2 separate regions of the Homo sapiens genome follow, and region 2 is linked to region 1. The links are contacts of gene promoters, found by promoter capture Hi-C in blood cells and fetal thymus (Javierre and others, 2016). All regions are on one chromosome and are shown on one strand. The core of a region is centred on a gene start or on the middle of the fragment in contact, and the rest is flanking DNA. Distances in the headings are between cores, read along the strand shown.

Region 1 (2,656 bases), core at 108-2,607:
GTGCCTGTAATCCCAGCTACTTGGGAGGCTGAGACAGGAAAATCGCTTGAGCCCGGGAGGCGGAGGTTGCAGTGAGACGAGATCACGCCACAGCACTCCAGCCTGGGCGACAGACCGAGACTCTGTCTCAAAAAAAAAAAAAAAAAAATTGCCAGGTGTGGTGGGGCGGGGCGTGCCTGTAGTCCCAACTACTCGGGAAGTTAAGGCAGGAGAATCGCTTGAACCTGGAAGGCGGAGGTTTTAGTGAGCCGAGATCGCGCCACTGCACTCCAGCCTGGGTGCACAATAAGACTCTGCCTCAAAAAAAAAAAAAAAAAAAAAAAAAAAAAAAAAAAAAAAGAATGAAATATCTATTCCCCCAACCCCCTCCACTTGACACGCGGTAGGGATGGATGTCAGGAATCCACATTGTTAACAACGAAAAATGCCTGCCACCCCATTGCTTGGTGCACAGTTGGCCCATGCTAGGTATCAAGCGTCAGTATCAACAACAAAAGTGCCTGTCGAGGCTGGCACGTGTTAGGACCATCTGCTTTTAGCTGTCTCACCAGGCTCCAGATGTTTGAGGATGCCTCTCTTGGCCAAGCGGGTCTGCAGCGCAACGGGCAGCGGCATAGCTGATAGCAGACAGACCTAGGGACAGACGAACAAACTGACAAGCAGCTCAGATAAAGATTCCTATCTGGATCCCGTAACCAAGCGCCTCCCGTAAACATGTACTCATCTGACTCCGATCTACTCAAATGAACCAGTAGCTGGGTGGACAGAACATACGCACTAAAAGATGTAAGAGGTAGGTGGCAATATCATCGCAACTCCCACCAACCCTACTGTCCCCGAAACCAGGTGCTCCAGGGCCCTGTTCCTCTCCCAGGCCCAGGCTCCGCCCACAGCCTAAGAAGCCCGGCCCCTCCGCACTTCAGAAATGGGCTCATCCAGCGTCCCCATGACTGCCGGGTGGGAGAAACCAAAGCGCTGGGATGGGGGAGCAGAGGGCAGCACTTCCTCCAGCTCCAAAAGAGTGCACCCACCCCAACGTTACCAATACACTCGTGCAGGTAGTGGAAGGCTGTCACACCGCCCGTCTCTCTCGTGTCGCCGCTACGATACCTGGGCCCACACGACTCTCTTCCCAAAACACCGAATGAGACCTTCTCTCAACGAGGCCTTCACTCCCCGAGCCTGAAAGTAACTGGACTACGCTCAGGAGGCAATGAACAAATGGCAGAAACTCGATTGGCCAATGAGAGTGCGTCCTTGGCGTGACATGCGGTATAGCGACCCAATCGCTGCCCGGTAATAGGCGGAAAGCTCCGACGCCGGTGTGCGTCTACGCTGGGGGCGTGGCCTGACTGCGCGGCCAGACGCCAGCGCCATGGAGGAGTACGCTCGGGAGCCCTGGTACGGCAATGGGCACAGGCATCCGGAATATTGCTGCGACGCCAAGGCCAGCCGTGGGGGTCGGGCGGGGGAGGCATCGGCCGCACAGAGCCATGTACCAGACTCGGGGGACTCTTAACGTATCTCCCGCTACCCCCACTCGGTTCCTGTCATTCGGGCTCCGTTATGAGGGGCCACAACCAGAGAAGGTGCGGCGAAGGCCGAACCACGCCATGTTTCTCCTGACTTCGTAATCTCCTAGCCCTGTTAACGAAAAAAGACACGCTGGACGATCCATCCCGGCTAGGGGTGGTACGGTGTTGACCGGAAATCCCCAGAGTTGCCGCCAGTGGTTTTTCCCAGGTCGCCTTTGTCAGTGGGGGGCGGGGCACGGATGAACCTGTTGAGGGCCGGCGGGGACGGTGGATGCTTCCCGCGGTCGCTCTTGGTTTTTCCCAGTTGTGCCGGATTGAAAAGGGGCGGGGCATGGTTGGACGGGCTCACCGTCGGAGAAGGGGTGCGACGCGGTCCTGCTTTGCTGACAGTCTGTCTTGGCTAGTTAACACGCCTATGTCGCTTATTGAAACGTCAACTCTGCGTGTGCCAATTCATTTAATCTTTGATCACAGTAAAACCGTTGGCTGATTCCTTGGTTGGTAGACAGGGCGAAGACTAATATTTCTCCCCCTTTGCCCCATTTCTCGCTTTAATGGGGGGGTGTGTGGAAAAAGCGTGACAGAACTAGCTCATTATTATCTGAAGTGTTTGTTCCTACTTAGGAACTTCCCATTCTGGTGACTTGGTTTCTCCCAGTTAGAAAAGAGTTCGTGTGACAGGACCTGGGGGAGGGCTCACATTAACCCCGTCCTTCCCTTCCTGCTTGCAGCCCATGGCGAATTGTGGATGATTGCGGTGGAGCCTTCACTATGGGTGTCATCGGTGGCGGAGTCTTCCAGGCCATCAAGGGTTTCCGCAATGCCCCTGTTGTGAGTCCAGGCCTTCCCTGGGTTGGTGTGGGGTTAGCTATCTTGCCCACAAGGGAGGCTGCTCTGAAAACTGCTTGGAGCTGCCAGTCACGTGCACTTATTCATTCTGGTGCCCACTCACCTACTATGTGCCGAGCCTGGCTCCTGTATCTGGGATTTTGTAGGGATTGCAAACATGGCCTCTGTCTTCCACCCTCCACCCCACCCAACTGGAGCTCCTCTGTGGAAATGCTGTGTCGTTCAAAGAGTCATCACCAAATTTTAAATGTATGTGCAAAGCCAGACAGTTT
Region 2 (2,656 bases), core at 74-2,573, 830 kb after region 1:
GTGAACCCTTTTGTAATTACCCATCTGCAAATATTATCAACTGATAACCAAGCTTGTTTTATCTATCTTTCATCCCCACCTACTCCTATCGTCATCATCATCATGATCTAGCCAATCCCTTGTTAATATTTTGTTTAGGGTTTATACTACTGTGTTCATAAGACATAAGGGCCTGTAATTTTACTTTCTTCTATTGTTTCTGTCACCTTTTGGTATCATGTTACATTGGCCTCATGTTGGAAAGTATTCTCTTTATATTCTCTGGGAAAATTTGGGTAATATTGGTACTATTTCCATCTTAAATTTTTTTTTTTTTTGAGATGGAGTTTCACTCTTGTCGCCCAGGCTGGAGTGCAATGGCACGATATCCGCTCATTGCAACCTCTGCCTCCCAGGTTCAAGCGATTCTCCTGCCTCAGTCTCCCAAGTAGCTGGGATTACAAGTGCCCGCCACCAAGTAGCTGGGATTACAAGTGCCTGCCTGCCTTCCTTCCTTCCTTCCTCCCTCCCTCCCTCCCTCCCTCTCTCTCTCTCTCTCTCTCTCTTTCTTTCTTTCTTTTTTTTTGAGACCGGGTTTCACCCCAGTTGCCCAGGCTAGAGTGCAGTGGCACTATCTTGCCTCACTGCAGCCTTGACCTCCCAGGCTAACTTTTGTATTTTTAGTAGAGATGGGGTTTCACCATGTTGGGCAGGCTGGTCTCGAATTCCTGGCCTCAGGTGATCCACCCACCTCGGCCTCCCAAAGTGTTGGGATTACAGGCATGAGCCACTGCGCCCGGCCTATTTCCTTCTTAAATGTTTGAAAGAGCTCCCCAGTGAAGCCATCAGGGTATGGAGTTTTCTTTGTGGGAAGGTTTTAAATTACATATTCAATTTATTTAAAAGATATACTACCATTCAGATTTTCTATTTCTTTTTATGTCTGGTTTGGTAAATTGTAATTTTCAAGTAATTTGTCCAGTTCCTCTAAGTCAGGGGTCAGCAAACTTTTTCTGTAGAGGGACAGATCGAAGTATCTGAGGCTTTGTGGGCCATACGGCCCCTGTTGCAACTATTCAAATCTGCTGTTTTAGGTAGAAAGCAGCTATTGACAATATGTAAACCAATGAGCCTGGCTGTGATTCAATAACACTTTATTTATGGATGCTGAAGGTTGGATTTCATATAATTTTCATGTGTCATAAAATATTCTTCTTTTGACTTTTTTTTCAATCATTAAAAATGTAAAAACCAGACCAGATACAGCTAGCTATTCACGCCTATAATCCCAGCACTTTGGGAGGCCAAGGTGGGCGGATTGCTTGAGCTCAGGAGTTCTAGACCAGCCTGGGCAGCATGGCGAAACCGCATCTCTACAAAAAAATACAAAAATTAACCAGGCATGGTGGCATGCGCCTGTGGTCCCAGCTACTCAGGAGGCTGATGTAGGAGAATCACTTGAGCCCGGGAGGAGGAGGTTGCAGTGAATCAAGACTGTTCCACTGTACTCCAGCTTGGCTGATAGAGCAAGACTGTCTCAAAAGAAAACGTGTAAAACCAGTTTAGCTTGTGGGCCATTGAAAAACACATGATGGGCTAAATTTGGCCTGCAGGCTATAGTTTGCTATGTCCTGATCTACATTGTCTACTGATGTACATTGTCAAATTAATGTCCATTAAATGTCCATTTAATGTTTGCAGGATACCAGAACCTTGTTGATGGGCTGTAAAAAAGTTATTTCTAGTTTTTCTTTTATATACAGTAGTAATAATAATAAGAAGAATCATAGCTACTATTTACTCAGTGCTTATCATGTGCCAGGCACTGCTATTATAAAATATCGTGGGATTAACTTATTTAATTCACCCAGGAACCCTCTGTGCTAGGTACCATTGTTATTCCCATTTTTCAGATGAAGAAAATGAGGCACAGAGATCACACAGCTAGTACATGACCTAACCAGACCTCTCAAGCAGTGAAGTCACAAATAAAACAACCATATAAAGATATCTTTTTATATTTGTGAAGTATTTGTGTAGGCCACATTCTCAGACATGAGTGTGCTAGGTCAGAGGCACACAGACTTATAAATTTAAAGAGTATTTTTCAAATCGTATATATATATATTTTTTTGAGACAAAGTCTCACTCTGTCCCCCAGGTTGGAGTGCAGTGGCATGATCTCAGCTCACTGTAACCTCCGCCTCCCAGGTTCAAGCGATTCTCATGCCTCAGCCTCCGGAGTAGCAGGGATTACAAGTGCCTGCCACCACGCCCGGCTAATTTTTGTATTTTTAGTAGAGACTGGGTTTCACCATGTTGGGCAGGCTGGTCTCGAACTCCTGACCTCAAGTGATCTGCCCACCTTGGCCTCCCAAAGTGCTGGGATTACAGGCATGAGCCACCCTGCCCAGCCCAAATTGTATTTCAATACTGTGTAATCAGCTGAACATGTGGCCACAAATTGTTTACAAGAAAGCCCACCTGTTTCCCAAGGTTCCCCCTCCCTCCTGCCACCATTAGCCATCATCTGTTTTTTTCATTCTTGTTGTTTTTATGATTAAGCATTATATCTCATTTTCATTTGCTTTTCTATAGGGATTAAATAAGCTTCAGCATCTTTTCACATATTTATTTTCCATATTGTATTTCTCTGTGAATCCCTCTTTCCTTGTCT

What was found. Contacts are between HindIII fragments. The CHiCAGO score rates a contact against its expected background, and 5 or more counts as called.
Region 2: a contact is called between a fragment that was not itself captured here and the fragment with the promoter of TIMM17B in region 1, in 1 of 17 cell types (neutrophils). The highest score is 5.6, in neutrophils.

The regions. Positions count from the first base shown.
Region 1 is chrX:48,896,469-48,899,124 of GRCh38, reverse strand. It overlaps TIMM17B (translocase of inner mitochondrial membrane 17B), which reads left to right and starts at 1,357. Exons shown (of 6, transcript NM_001395498.1): 1 at 1,357-1,401; 2 at 2,267-2,366. The coding sequence starts at 1,376. It overlaps PQBP1 (polyglutamine binding protein 1), which reads right to left and starts at 1,195. Exons shown (of 7, transcript NM_001032382.2): 1 at 1,043-1,195; 2 at 549-633. The coding sequence starts at 615. RefSeq lists enhancers at 532-751, 802-1,171, 1,462-1,661, 1,692-1,841. The HindIII fragment of the contact is 9,862 bases long and covers 1-2,656 here.
Region 2 is chrX:48,063,345-48,066,000 of GRCh38, reverse strand. The region is part of intron 2 of ZNF630 (zinc finger protein 630); the gene reads left to right. The region is part of intron 1 of ZNF630-AS1 (ZNF630 antisense RNA 1); the gene reads right to left. Among named protein-coding and RNA genes, the nearest start is that of ZNF630, 7.0 kb to the left of the region's middle. The HindIII fragment of the contact is 2,537 bases long and covers 55-2,591 here.